Linked DNA regions of Homo sapiens: regions 2, 3, 4 and 5 are each linked to region 1. Evidence: promoter capture Hi-C in human tissues and cell types (Jung and others, 2019). All regions are on one chromosome and are shown on one strand. Each heading gives the region's core, a stretch centred on a gene start or on the middle of the fragment in contact. The rest is flanking DNA. Distances are from core to core; before and after follow the strand shown. Region 1 holds the start of SNAI1 (snail family transcriptional repressor 1). Region 2 overlaps ADNP (activity dependent neuroprotector homeobox). Region 3 overlaps PTPN1 (protein tyrosine phosphatase non-receptor type 1). Region 4 overlaps PTPN1 (protein tyrosine phosphatase non-receptor type 1). Region 5 overlaps PTPN1 (protein tyrosine phosphatase non-receptor type 1).

The links. Contacts are between HindIII fragments. The study calls those that stand out against the background at their distance.
Region 2: a contact is called between a fragment that was not itself captured here and the fragment with the promoter of SNAI1 in region 1, in 2 of the 25 tissues and cell types used here (mesenchymal stem cells and spleen).
Region 3: a contact is called between a fragment that was not itself captured here and the fragment with the promoter of SNAI1 in region 1, in 1 of the 25 tissues and cell types used here (spleen).
Region 4: a contact is called between a fragment that was not itself captured here and the fragment with the promoter of SNAI1 in region 1, in 1 of the 25 tissues and cell types used here (IMR-90 fibroblasts).
Region 5: a fragment that was not itself captured here is called in contact with the fragment with the promoter of SNAI1 in region 1 in 3 of the 25 tissues and cell types used here (hippocampus, lymphoblastoid cells and mesenchymal stem cells).

What each region holds. Positions count from the first base shown.
Region 1 is chr20:49,981,695-49,984,294 of GRCh38, reverse strand. It overlaps SNAI1 (snail family transcriptional repressor 1), which reads right to left and starts at 1,315. Exons shown (of 3, transcript NM_005985.4): 1 at 1,154-1,315; 2 at 1-471. The coding sequence starts at 1,235. RefSeq lists a silencer at 1,301-1,820 and an enhancer at 1,973-2,600. The HindIII fragment of the contact is 23,979 bases long and covers 1-2,600 here.
Region 2 is chr20:50,921,730-50,924,329 of GRCh38, reverse strand. The region is part of intron 2 of ADNP (activity dependent neuroprotector homeobox); the gene reads left to right. Among named protein-coding and RNA genes, the nearest start is that of ADNP-AS1, 8.0 kb to the left of the region's middle. The HindIII fragment of the contact is 7,393 bases long and covers 1-2,600 here.
Region 3 is chr20:50,555,466-50,558,065 of GRCh38, reverse strand. All of the region lies in intron 1 of PTPN1 (protein tyrosine phosphatase non-receptor type 1), which reads right to left. It also overlaps the pseudogene RN7SL672P. Among named protein-coding and RNA genes, the nearest start is that of MIR645, 29 kb to the left of the region's middle. The HindIII fragment of the contact is 3,936 bases long and covers 1-2,600 here.
Region 4 is chr20:50,534,885-50,537,484 of GRCh38, reverse strand. All of the region lies in intron 1 of PTPN1 (protein tyrosine phosphatase non-receptor type 1), which reads right to left. Among named protein-coding and RNA genes, the nearest start is that of PTPN1, 26 kb to the right of the region's middle. The HindIII fragment of the contact is 4,043 bases long and covers 1-2,600 here.
Region 5 is chr20:50,512,380-50,514,979 of GRCh38, reverse strand. All of the region lies in intron 1 of PTPN1 (protein tyrosine phosphatase non-receptor type 1), which reads right to left. Among named protein-coding and RNA genes, the nearest start is that of PTPN1, 3.3 kb to the right of the region's middle. The HindIII fragment of the contact is 4,243 bases long and covers 1-2,600 here.

The sequences.
Region 1 (2,600 bases), core at 66-2,565:
AGGTTCCGCAGACGCAGGGCAGCGTGTGGCTTCGGATGTGCATCTTGAGGGCACCCAGGCTGAGGTATTCCTTGTTGCAGTATTTGCAGTTGAAGGCCTTTCGAGCCTGGAGATCCTTGGCCTCAGAGAGCTGGGCCAGCTGCTTGGGCACTTGGCCCAAGCCTGGGAAGGCAGCATAGGCCTCGGCCTCCAAGGAAGAGACTGAAGTAGAGGAGAAGGACGAAGGAGCCGGTGAGGGTGGGCTGGGGGGCTGGGAGCCTTTCCCACTGTCCTCATCTGACAGGGAGGTCAGCTCTGCCACCCTGGGACTCTCCTGGAGCCGAAGGGAGGCCCAGGCAATTGGCTGGGCTTGGGGCGCCAGGACAGAGTCCCAGATGAGCATTGGCAGCGAGGCGGTGGGGTTGAGGATCTCCGGAGGTGGGATGGCTGCCAGCAGGTGGGCCTGGTCGTAGGGCTGCTGGAAGGTAAACTCTGAGGGAGAAAAAGCAGAGTCAGGCGTTAATTAAATCATTCACTCAATCAACAAACATGAGCCCACCGCTGGCCAGGGGCTGGGTGGGGCCGATTCTCAATACATAATTAGATCAAAAAAATTATCCACAGGACAGACCAGGTTCCTGCCCTCCTCGCCCAGGTCACCCAATCTGAGTCTCTCACACGTAGGACCCCCAGTTGAAGGAGGTCATTTCCTGATCTCCCTCTCCTAAGTCCCCAGTCTCCAGCCTGAGGCCAGAACCCCATCATCCCAGCCCCGGAGCCACCACCCTGCCCCAATCCCCCTCCTCACACACATCTCGTCTCCCCACCCCTCCCCTCAACCCTCTGGACTCCGGACTCTCCCCAGCAGCGTCCAGAGGGCCCTCCTGACACAGGCCTCCTCTCCTTCCCCTCTTGCGGAGCTCCTCCGCCTCTCGCCGGCTACAAAGGCCCCCCAAGCTGAAGACCCCTGCCCTCTACACGGCACTCCCCCAACCACCCAGACAGATCCCCGGAACTGGGGACCCACTTGCCCGGTCTCCCGAGCCCGCAATGGTCCACAAAACATCCTGTGACTCGATCCTGGCTCAGGCAGGCCGCCTCCCTCAGGTGCCCCCCACGCAGCCTTCGCCTGTCTCCCCCAAACCTCCTGGAGCCCAGAACCCCTCCAACGCACCTGGATTAGAGTCCTGCAGCTCGCTGTAGTTAGGCTTCCGATTGGGGTCGGAGGGCTTCCTGACGAGGAAAGAGCGCGGCATAGTGGTCGAGGCACTGGGGTCGCCGATTCGCGCAGCAGTAGCGCAGAAGAACCACTCGCTAGGCCGTGCCGCGGCGCAATGAATGCAGCAGCGCCGCCAACTCCCTTAAGTACTCCGGGGGGGTGGTGGGGGGTGGGAGGGGCGGGGCCTTATCTGCCACGCCCCTTTGTCACCTCCGCGCCAATCGGAGGCTCGTCTCCGCCGAAGGCCACTCCCCGAGCAGGTGCGCCGGCTGCTGGCCGGGCTCGCGCCGCGTGGCGGTGAGAGCCCGGGCGGGGACTCCTCCGAGGCGGGGTTCGCTGGCGCAGCGCGGGTCGTCCCCGGTGCTGGGGCTGTCCGGGGCGGGACGTCGAGCGAAGCGAGGCCTCTGCGAGGTGGGACCCCGGCAGGACGCCGCGCGCCCACCGGCTCAGCGCCCGGTGGTCTGAGCGCTTCTGACGCCCCCTGGCGCTGCGCGCCGGCCGGGACACCTGACCTTCCGACGCCCGCCCCCGCCTCGGGCTTGGGAGGGGGCGGAAATTTCCTCCGCCCGGCTGGCGCCTGGAGAGCGTGGCATTGACGAGGGAAACGCACATCACTGGGGAGGAAGCGAGGAAAGGGACACCGCACGTGGCTCTCGGCGGCTTGAAATGCCACGGCCTTTTTGCAAAGCAGCCTGGCCCAGCTAGCCAAGAGCACCCGTTCCTTCCCTTATCCAGTGTTTACGGAGCGCCCAGCACGTGTGGGGCACTGTACCTGGGGCCAGGGCACAGCCCCGGACAGAACACTCAGAGCCTCTCCCGAAGGGTAGCTTCTGGTCCAGTGAGGGAGACAGACGAAGTAAACAGATAATTACAATGCAAAGGGAAGTGTGCTTTGGTGGGGGAGAGACGGGACGCGGCGACCGTTAAGAGGCGGGTCACCTGACAGGGGGTCGGGGTGACTTCCCAGAGGAAGTGAAGAATTATCAAGGGAAAAGGCCCGAGGGAAGAAGTGGCAACTGCTTCAGAGTAACTCCTAGAGAGCAGCTTCCAGGGATGGGGTGGGATGGGCATGCCCGGAGGGGTCAGATGTGCTGGGCCCCAGGGCCTCGTAGGAGTTTGGACTTTGCCTCAAGGGCACTGGGGAGCCACCGAAGGATTTTCAGCTGAGGAGGGACCTGGTTAGAGTTTCGTTGAAAAAGATCCCTGTAGGCTGGCGGGAGAAAGAAGGCATGGGCCGGGCGTGTCTCCTCACCCCGTGAAGATCCTCGATCCTGTGTCTAAAGGCTGTAACACGGCTCCATAGGGGCCCTGACTGAATGCATGTGGGGTGGGCCCAAGTGAGGGGCAGCTGCACCCCCACCCCAGCTTCCCTGGGAGGCGTACCAGGCCCGGGGGTGGCTCT
Region 2 (2,600 bases), core at 71-2,570, 940 kb before region 1:
CCCAGCAGGGAGAGTATGGGTGTAAATTGTGCAGGTGGCAGTTAATTGGAGTAGCATATTTCTGCTGGGAAGTTAACTGTATAAGAATCTAAAAAGAAACGTTGTTTATGTTCCCTTTTCTTTTCCCAGTTTTTTAGTTTAAGACAGTCAGTCTGTCCTGAGCAGTTACTTTTTTCTTAGATAATTGCTGGCTTTTACCCTTTCTTTTTCTGAATCCTTCATGCTCCATTTAAGAGCTTGTGGAAACCTGTGCTTCAGTTGACAATCTGTAAAGCTCTGCTCTTCTGGTGGAAGCTCATGACCTGAGAACCTTTTGAGTGGTCTCTTTTGAGAAACTCCTGTCTAGTGGAAATATGGTGGAATTTATTAAAATTTTCAATTCGAATTATAAATTTAGGTTGACAGAATCCTTGCTCTTGTGAAAGAAGTGAGCTGAGACTGGGAGTATCCAAATGCAAGAAGTGCTCAGAATCCTGCTTCAAGATCAGTTACACTTAAAAACAGCAACAAGAGGATGGGTGCGGTGGCTTACATCTGTAATCCCAGCACTTTGGGAAGCCAAGGCTGGCGGGTCACCTGAGGTCAGGAGTTCAAGACCAGCCTGGCCAACATGGTGAAACCCCATCTCTACTAAAAATACAAAAGTTATCCTGGTGTGGTGGCACTCACATGTAGTCTCAGCTACTTGGGAGGCTGAGGCAGGAGAATCACTTGAACCTGGGAGGCGGAGGTTGCAGTGAGCCAAGATGGCACCACTGCACTCTAGCCTGGGTGACAGAGTGAGACTCAGTCTCAAAAAAAAATAAAAATAAAAAACAGCAACCAAAAAAAATGCAAATAAAACTTCTCTGAGGAAAGTGTGAAAACTTGAGCCATCAAGTGGCAAAACCTGGTACAAGAACGCTTTTGAAAAGCTACCTTCGGTGAAGCCTTGATCCTGGGAAATGGCTTCGAAAAACTTGAGAACATAGTTTAAATATTCTGTTACTCAAGAATAGTGAAAGAAATATATTTCCTATTGTGGGAAATTATTTCTGAGTAGTTTCGGTAGAGCATAAAAATGTATTATTAGGGGATCAAAATAACGTTTTATGTCATTTAGATACAAAGACTTGGCATGCTTCTGAAATAATTTATAAATGGACATATCTGCGTGTCCTCTTGTGGTGTTGTGATACATACTGGTTTTCATCCACCACGGTTCCTGGCTCATAACACCCATAACCCCATTACCGTGTTTTGTTATAATATAGGGTACGTTAGGTCTCAGAAAATAATCTCTGATCTTCTCCTGCTCTCCTTACACGTGTCCCAAGGCAAGATTCTGATCTTTACCCAGCTTTCTGATTGTAGGTCTTGAGATCCTCTCTAGAGAGAGGGTGTTGGCCCTATACCCCGGGGAAGGGAAGTAAGGTTTCCTATATGAAGCTTTTATAAAAACCCAGGAGGGCCAGGCGCGGTGGCTCACGCCTGTAATCCCAGCATTTTGGGAGGCTGGGGGCGAGCAAATCACAAGTTTAGGAGTTTGAGACCAGCCTGGCCATCGTGGTGAAACCCCATCTCTACTAAAAATACAAAAAAAATTAGCTGGGTTTAGTGGTGGGGGCCTATAATCCCAGCTACTCAGGAGGCTGAGGCTGGAGAATTGCTCAAACCCGGGAGGCAGAGGTTACAGTGAGGCGAGATTGCACCACTGCACTCCAGCCTGGGGGACAGAGTGAGATTCTGTCTTTAAAAAAAAAAAAAAAAAACGCAGGAGGACTGGGTTCAGAGAGCTTCCAGATAGTTGAACACACCTGGAGGGTGGCGCCCCCAGAGAGGGTATGGAAGCCCAGTGCCCTTACGCATTTCTTTATCTGTACTTTTTATAATAAACCGGTAAACATAAGTGTTTCCCCAAGTTTTGTGAGATGCTCCAGCAAATTAATAGAACTCAAGGAGGGGGTCTTGGGAACCCCAGCTTGAAGTGTCAGTCAGAAGTTCTGGAGGCCCAGACTTACAGTTGGAGTCTGAAGAAGGAGAGAGCAGTTTTGGGGACTGAGCCCCCATCTTGTGGAATATGACACTGTATCCAGGTAGACAGTGTCAGAACCAAATTAGAGGATACTCAGCTGGTGTCCGCTGCTTGGGAAAAAACCCTACACGTTTGGTCACAGAAGACAACTTCACGACTTCTGTGTGGTGTGAGGGCAGAGGAAAAACAAAGTTTGAGAGTTTTCCCCTAAAGCACCCCTTAAGGGCTACTTGTGAATTATTTCCCTTTTTCACATTGATCTTAAGCCAGATTGTCCACTTACAGCGACAGCAAGTGGCTGTATGCCTGTGGAGTTCTTATGTAGGCAGTGGAGTGCTAGAATCACTCTTTATGCTGTGTCCCTGCCTTGCTGCAATACCTGTTTAGAGTGAAGTAAACTGGGAAGTGCTCCTCACCTCACACTCTCCCTAAATCTAAATTGGTATATTATAAAGTATCCTCAGTCTGTTTTTCTTGTTTAAGTACCGAGGCATCTTCCCCCGCTTTCAAATACAATTTTAGGTGAACTCTTAAATTGATGAAGGGTCGGGGGGCCAGACCTCTGGCTGCCCAGCTTTCACCTTGT
Region 3 (2,600 bases), core at 44-2,543, 570 kb before region 1:
CTGAGAAGTTTGAGATGAGTCTGGACAACATGGCAAAACCCCACCTCTACAAAAAACACAAAAATTAACCTGGTGTGGTGGCAAGTGTCTGTAGTCTCAGCTACGCGGGAGGCTTAGGTGGGAGGACTGCTTGAGCCCGGGAGGACTGCTTGAGCCCAGGAGTCCTGGGCTGCATGCGTTATGCCGATCGGGTGTCCGCACTAAGTTTGGCATCAATATGCTGACCTCCCGGGAATGGGGGACCACCAGGTTGCCTAAGAAGGGGTGAACTGGTCCAGGTTGGAAATGGAGCAGGTGGAAATTCCTGTACTGATCAGCAGTGGGATCATGCCCGCGAAGAGCCACTGAACTCTAGCCTGGGCAATATAGTAAGACCCCATCTCTTTAAAAAACAAAATAGGAAAAAAATTAAAAAGTCAATTATTAACAACAGAAATAATGTTTAAAAAAGAAACACAGTACAGTACAGTACAATACTATCTGTGACTATGTGCAGAGGCAAATAATGTAAACAATGAGTACTGATTTAACCAAAAGGTAAAACATTGGGAAAATGGGGGCGGTGAAGCAGAGGGGAGGAAAAGAAAGGGGATGGCTGTTTAAGAAAACTAAATCATCCACCTTAATAATGGTCTCGAATAATGTATCAAAAGATAAACATTTTGAGCTGGGCATGGTGGTATGTGCCTGTAGCGTAGTCTCAGCTACCTGAGAGGCGGAGGCAGGAAGACTGCTTGAGCCCAGGAGTTCGAGGCTACAGTGAGCTACGATGGTGCCACTGTACTCCAGCCTGGGCGACAGAGTTAAGACCCTGTCTCTGAAAAATAATAAAAAGAATTTATAAATTTAAAAAAGATAAACATTTTGCTTAGAAATATGGAGATATATACAAGCTGTAATCAATCAGCAGAACAAAGATTGGGAGTGGTGGTCAATGAGAAAGACCAGAGAAATGGTCTGAGGTGGGGACAGCAAACCACCATATTTTATTTTATTTTTTAAAAGATGGGGTTTTGCTCTTGTTGCCCAGGCTATTAATTTCATCTGCTTCTTTTGACCTTTTCTACTATGGCTACAAGAAAATGTAAAGTCATGTATGTGGGTTGTATTATATGTCTATTGGACAGCACTCACTGATCTTGTGGAAAATTGTTCTGAAATAATGCGATATCGGCTCACCACAACCTCTGCCTCCCGGGTTGAAGCAATTCTCCTGCCTCAGCCTCCCAAGTAGCTGGGATTACAGGCATGCACCACCATGCCCAGCTAATTTTGTATTTTAGTAGTTTCACCATGTAGGTCAGACTGGTCTCAAACTCCTGACTTCAGGTGATCCACCTGCCTCAGCCTCCCAAGGTGCTGGGATTACAAGTGTGAGCCACGACACCCAGCCAAACCACTGGATTTTATCATAAACCGATTACGGTACTATTTGACTCCTTGAGTCATGTGCATATTCAATTTGGATTTAAAAAATGTCCACATTCTGCTATTCTGCTTACTTATTTATAAAACTGTAAAAGGGCAGGTAAGAGTTTTTGACTCATACTAGAGAACAACTAATAACAGAATGATGGAGCTCGAGTGGTGGTTCACATCTGTAATCCCAGCACTTTGGGAGCCGAGGTGGGAGGATTGTTTGAGCCCAGGAGTTCAAGATCAGCCTTGGGCAAAAAAATGATGCCTCGTCTCTACAATACATTTAAAAAAATAGCCGGGTGTGGTGGCGTGCACCTGTGCTTCCATCTACACAAGGGGTTGAGGCAGGAAGATCACTTGAGCCCAGGAGATTGAATCTGCAGTGACCCATAAACACATCACTGCACTCTAGCCTCTCCAGCCTGGGCAGCAGAGTGAGACCCTGTCTCAAAACCAAAAACAAACCCACACAAAAAAACAACAGCATGATGACAGATTACAAACCTACCTAAGAGTAAATAAATTAATCCAATAGTAACACATCCACTGCATCACTTACAGATGAGATTAAGCTTTCAGGGAAATGCTATACAGCACAGAAAAAAAAAAAAAGACCTGAAAAAGTAAAAATCTAAGTCTTAAATTTGTTATTCTACGTATCATTTGGAAGCATTCAGCAGTGAGTACAAATTCTGCCCTTGAAGTGAAAAACAATCTGGTCAGTCCAGCTGGTGTGACTGGATGAAGATGTAAGAAATATCTGATACAGATAAACCACTCAGCTAACGAATATTTACCCGGAGCAAATAAGGGCCGAAATAACAGTTGCAACTGATTTTATTCAGCCAAAAGGATTATGCATATGTACTTTTTTTGGTGTGTGTGTGTGCATGCCTGAGAGACAGAGAAATAAAAAAAAAAAAATAGAGGTAAGAAGCAAAACGTGGAGATGTCATTTAATAAAGACATTGGGAAAATAAAAGGTATCTACATAATACTTTTTAAAAAACAGATTTTAAAATTAAGGTATACTCAGAGTAAAATGCAAAGATCTTAAGTATGTACTTGAATACATTTTTAAAACTGCTTTTGAGGTATATTTTACAAATAATAAAACATACCCACTTAAGTGTTCAGTGAGTTTTAAGCAATGTCTACAACCATTTAACTATCAATGCAAC
Region 4 (2,600 bases), core at 58-2,557, 550 kb before region 1:
ATAAGATGAGCAGACTGTATCAATGTCAGTATTGTGGTTGTGATACTGTACTGCAGTTCTGCAAAATGTTATGGGCAGTGGATGGGGGAACTAGGCAAAGCGCACATGGGATCTCTCTGTTTTATTTTTAAAGTTTATTTATTATTATTATTATTATTTTTGAGATGCAGTCTTGCTCTTGTTGCCCAGGCTGGAGTGGAATGGTACCATCTCGGCTCACTGCAACCTCTGCCTCCGGAGTTCAAACGATTCTCCTGCCTCAGCCTCCCAACTAGCTGGGATTACAGGTGCCCGCCACCACACCCAGCTAATTTTTGTATTTTTAGTAGAGACAGGGTTTCGCCATGTTGGCCAGTCTGGTCTCAAACTCCTGACCTCATGATCTGCCTGCCTCGGCCTCCCAAAGTGCTGGGATTACAGGCGTGAGCCACCGCGCTCAGCTCTGTATTATTTCTTTCAACTGCACAGGAATCTACAATTATGTCAACAACAATTTTAACTAAAATATATGATTGGCAAAATATAGATCAAAATGTTTAGAGTGCTTATAAGCTGCAGTGATAGGAATAAAGAAAAATTTTACTTTTTTTGTTTTCTACAGTAAACATGAAATATAGCATAAAAATAGAAAAGTAAGTATTTCTTAACAAGAGGTAAAAAGATATAATCAAGACTTGGGACATGTAAAAAATATTTTATAAAATCTCAAGGAATATAAGTAAAGGGAATACAGGACTGTTCAACAAATTACAGGATTCTAAGTTATTAAAAACATCCTTAAAATTAAAAAAATCTGGGTAAACAAAGGGGAGGGCCTATGTATAGTGGTAAAACATTAACTTAAGGAAATGGTATGTCAGGAGGCGATGTGCTCTAGGGACCAATGTTCTGGCCACACGCCTTCCCTGTGTTCTTTAGAATTGCTAAGCCACTTCTAATCACATCATTCTTTAAGCCTTGCTTAAGTGCCCAAGGACCACTTCAAACAAGCTCAAAGCTCCTTTGTAAACACTTGCATTGCATCTTTTATTTTTCTTTCCCAGCACTCCTCCACAATTAAAATTAATCATTTGTGTGACTGTTTCAGGTTGGTCTTCCTCTTATAATTATAAAAGAGGCCATTGGTACACGTTTCTGATCAGCACACCGCCTGGCAACTGCATTCACGGAATACATTTTTAAATGAAGTAAGCGCCAACATAAATTATATGAATATACAGATGGCTATCACACTGCCTTATAGGGAAAAGTAAGACTCTTCTGTTCAAGAATAACTGTTAGGTAGGTAGATGACTCTCAAGAGCTGAGTCTTCAATAAGGCTTTATTTAATTTCACAAACATTTCTGAAGGATTTATGGAGGTATCCCATCTTATGTGGTGACTAAATCCTACAGTTAGATATGAGGTAAAATTTGCACACAATCAAAATTAACCTCAGGAAAACATACCTTAAATTGCCAGCATCTAAGCCTTACACATTTTAATGCCTAGATTTTAACCTCTTTTCTCTTTTCAACTGATACCTCCCTTTCCCCAGAGGATATCAAGGTGTGGTTTGATACTGGCAATGTAGTATTCAAGGAATTTCTTTCTCTCTATTTGGGGGTGGGGGACGGGGACCAGTACATATGGTTTAATTAAGGAAGGCTAAATGTATATACGACACAAGACCACAGGGTGACTGAACATTAGGTACTGAGGATACAAAGATGTGAAAGGCAATCCCCATGTTCCTATAGGGTTCACATTCTAGCTAAAAAGAAAGTAATGTATAAGCAACCAAATAAAAATATTAATTCATATAAAATGTCTAAGCATTAAAAAGGAAAAGCATGTTGCAAAATCCTATTTTGCCTGTCAGAAGCTAAACACTGTTCTTTCTAGCAGCTTGCTTTCTGTAACCAAATCCTAACTTTCCCCTAAGCAGATGGAGTCCTAAGGCGAATTAGGGCAAAGTTAACGTGGTCACGGAGGCAACAGAGAAAAGAGTATTCATAATAAAATATTTCCCATACTACAAAAAAGAGGGGATTCAATAGAAAGGACAGCTCAGTGTAGGAAGAGGGAGGCACGTGCTCCGCTGAGGCAGGGGCTGTGAATAGAATGGTGGGTGGCTCCGCAGGCAGAAGACACAGCATCAGTAAAGACAGAATGTGGAGCATGCGCTGCAGGTGTACGGGGACCTGGCCAGGAGATCAAGGGAGTGCCTTTATCCAGGCATGCCTTCAGCACCTGTGTTAGGAATCTGGAGGTAACACCCTCATCAATGGGGAATGGAAGTTTTCAAGTAGGACAGTGATACATAACATGTCCTCCCATGAAAGATACAGCAGAAAGGAAGGACCTGAACCAGCTGAAGGCGACTTTGAAGACCACAGATGAGAAGGGCCTGAACTAAGGCTTGGGAAGGAAGTGAAGGAAAGAGTTTCAGACATACATCCCAAGAATAAAATTGGGCCTGTAATTCCAGCACTTTGGGAGGCCAATGCAGGAGGACCGCCTGAAGGCAGGAGTTCCGCCTGAAGGCAGGAGTTCAAGGCCAGCCTGAGCAACAGTGAGACTCTGTCTCTATAAAAAATAAAAATAAAAAGTTAGCTGG
Region 5 (2,600 bases), core at 37-2,536, 530 kb before region 1:
GAACCTAGACTACTAGTGTGGTGGAAAGGATGCCATAGTGACCAACCAGTGAAATGTGGCAGAGGGAATCACCAACTACTCCAAAGTCCCCAGCCCTCCTGGATACTCAAAATGTGAACATGGAATGGCTGGTGCCAAACTACATCATCTGGGAACAATGACCCAGCTAGAATTCCAATTTTCCTGAATATGGGCAGCATAAAGTAACATGCCCAGCCGATTTGCCAGTATTAGTTGTTACCAGAAACAAATCAGCATAAACACTGTAGGGAGGAATGCCAAATTGTGCAAAATATATATAGGCTCAGGCAGGCCTCAGAAAAAGTACCTGCTCACGCCTGCAATCCCAACTTCAGGAGGCCAAGGTGGGAGGATCGCTTGAAGCCAGGAGTTCAAGACCAACCTGGGCAACACAGCAAAACCCCATTTCTATTTAAAAGAAAGAAAGAAAGAAAAAGCAGTGCTAGGAACAGAAATTGCCAAAAGGATTCTGTAATCTACAAGATCACAAGACAGTTTTCTTTAACAAAGAGAAAAGGGAAAGAATCACACAACAAAAGGCCGTTATTTCAGTAGCTAAGTCAAAAAACCTCCACAGGAAATTTCTTATTCATTTCCACTGTGAAATTCAGTACACATTCAATTACATTATTCAATACCAGGTATTTTAATAGGTTTTGAGGAGCTATTCAAGATAAAATGCAAAATGGAGGAGAAGTAACGGCAGATAACTTGCAGCTAAGAAACAGCGGCATTACCATTATCCCCCAGCTGACTTTTTAGAACCACTGGTTGGTTTACTTACTTCCAAAAACACCAAAGTATTCCTATAAATATGCCAGTGATGTCAAATAACAATAGCAAAAAGTTCTTTCCTTCACTATTTCTACTTGTGCTCCCAGTTAATCTAATATCAGTCCAGACAATTACAAAGGCATTTACACCATTTCCAAAGTACTGATCAGACACCTAAATTTAGTTCACTCAAACCAGGGCTAAACAAGAACATTTAGATCTAATGGGTCACTCAAGATGACTAGAACTTCCCAGTCTCTCCATGTCATTTCCGTTAGTCTTTTTTTTTTTAAGTGAAGTGAGTCATAGTGTATAGATCTTTCTCCTTTGCATAAAATAGTTTTTTTTCCTCTGAAGAAAATAGTATTTAAATAAACATTATTGGCAAATTTTAATATTCATCTTTTTGGAATATAACAACATAAGCTGTATATCAGTAAGGAATTTTAGTGAACTATTGTTACAACATGGTTTTAACCTAGTCAGGCATTAGATTGTATTTCATAATGAAAACAGCTATAAAAACAAATGTCAATTGGAAGAGTGGCCCATTTTACAAAGCCTGCCTCTAACATGAATAAATCTTGCCTTCATGTCACAAGGTATTATTGCAGTCCCCTTTATCTGAAACAATCAAATCATTCACAATGAAATATAGTGAGTGGTGTCAGAGAATCAAAGAATTTACAGACGAGAAAACAAGCAAAACACCGGACCCAACCCCTCTTAAACTACAGATGGAGGGGAGCACATGAGCTATTCTTTTCATTCACTCAACCCTCTCTCCTCTCATTCTAGCTCAGTAAAATCAATCTCTTTTCCTCATCTGGGCTCATTCTCTCCTCTTAGACAGCTAGGCCCAATCAAGCAACCGGATGATTTGAAAGTGTTTAAATGCTAGAAAACAATGTTTAAAGCCATCTATATACACTATCAAAGCTGACTTTTTATAGACCTAGATGCTTATTAGCATCTATGCTATTCATTAGCATTAAAGATTAAAAATACGGTTATGCTCACTTTATCAAACTGACCTAGCAAAGAATCTCTGCCTAAAAAGTTTGTTTTCCAAGCTGCCACATTCCTCAGCACTCAAAAGTCCTCTTCACTCTTTGTTCTTTTCCCAATAGTTTTCAAGTTTTTACATCTTTTTGTTCTAATCAGAAAATAAGTTAGAATAACTGACCTGCTTACCAAGTTGTAAGCAAAAATTACATTATTCTCTGATCACAATAGGCTAGGCAAGCTCAAAGTATGACTTTGTATAAGGCTGCCCTCATTTCAACATGCTATAAAGTATTAATTTTTTTAAACTTCCATTTTCTATCAATTGTAAACACATTCTTTGAATCCTTGAAAAATAATGGTTTTGGTAAAGCGATACACACCTTGGAAAGTTAGCCACTTTAGACTCAAGGTCATCTGAACTCTGTTTCAGAAAACGCTACAGTTGTATGACAAAGAGCTACTTTTACACTTAGGAGAAAAGCTTCTGATTTCAAGATCTTAGAAAAGAAAAATATCCATACAGTGGAGGTGAGAAAAGCTGGCCCTGACAATTCTCTAAGACCAAAAGAAACTACCTCAGGGAATGTGGCAATCCATTAAGAAGCAGTGAAAATCTCAACACCTTGACTAACTTGTGGGGTTTAATTGTGGCAGAAAAACTTAAGAACAATGAAGGAAATGAATTGAAGACTGACACACTCCATGCTAGTTGCATGCTGAATACAATTTTAACCATGCTTGGGTGACAGGTCAACCCACTCTGGCTTAAAATTGTAAGAAATAAAATTCAACTAAGA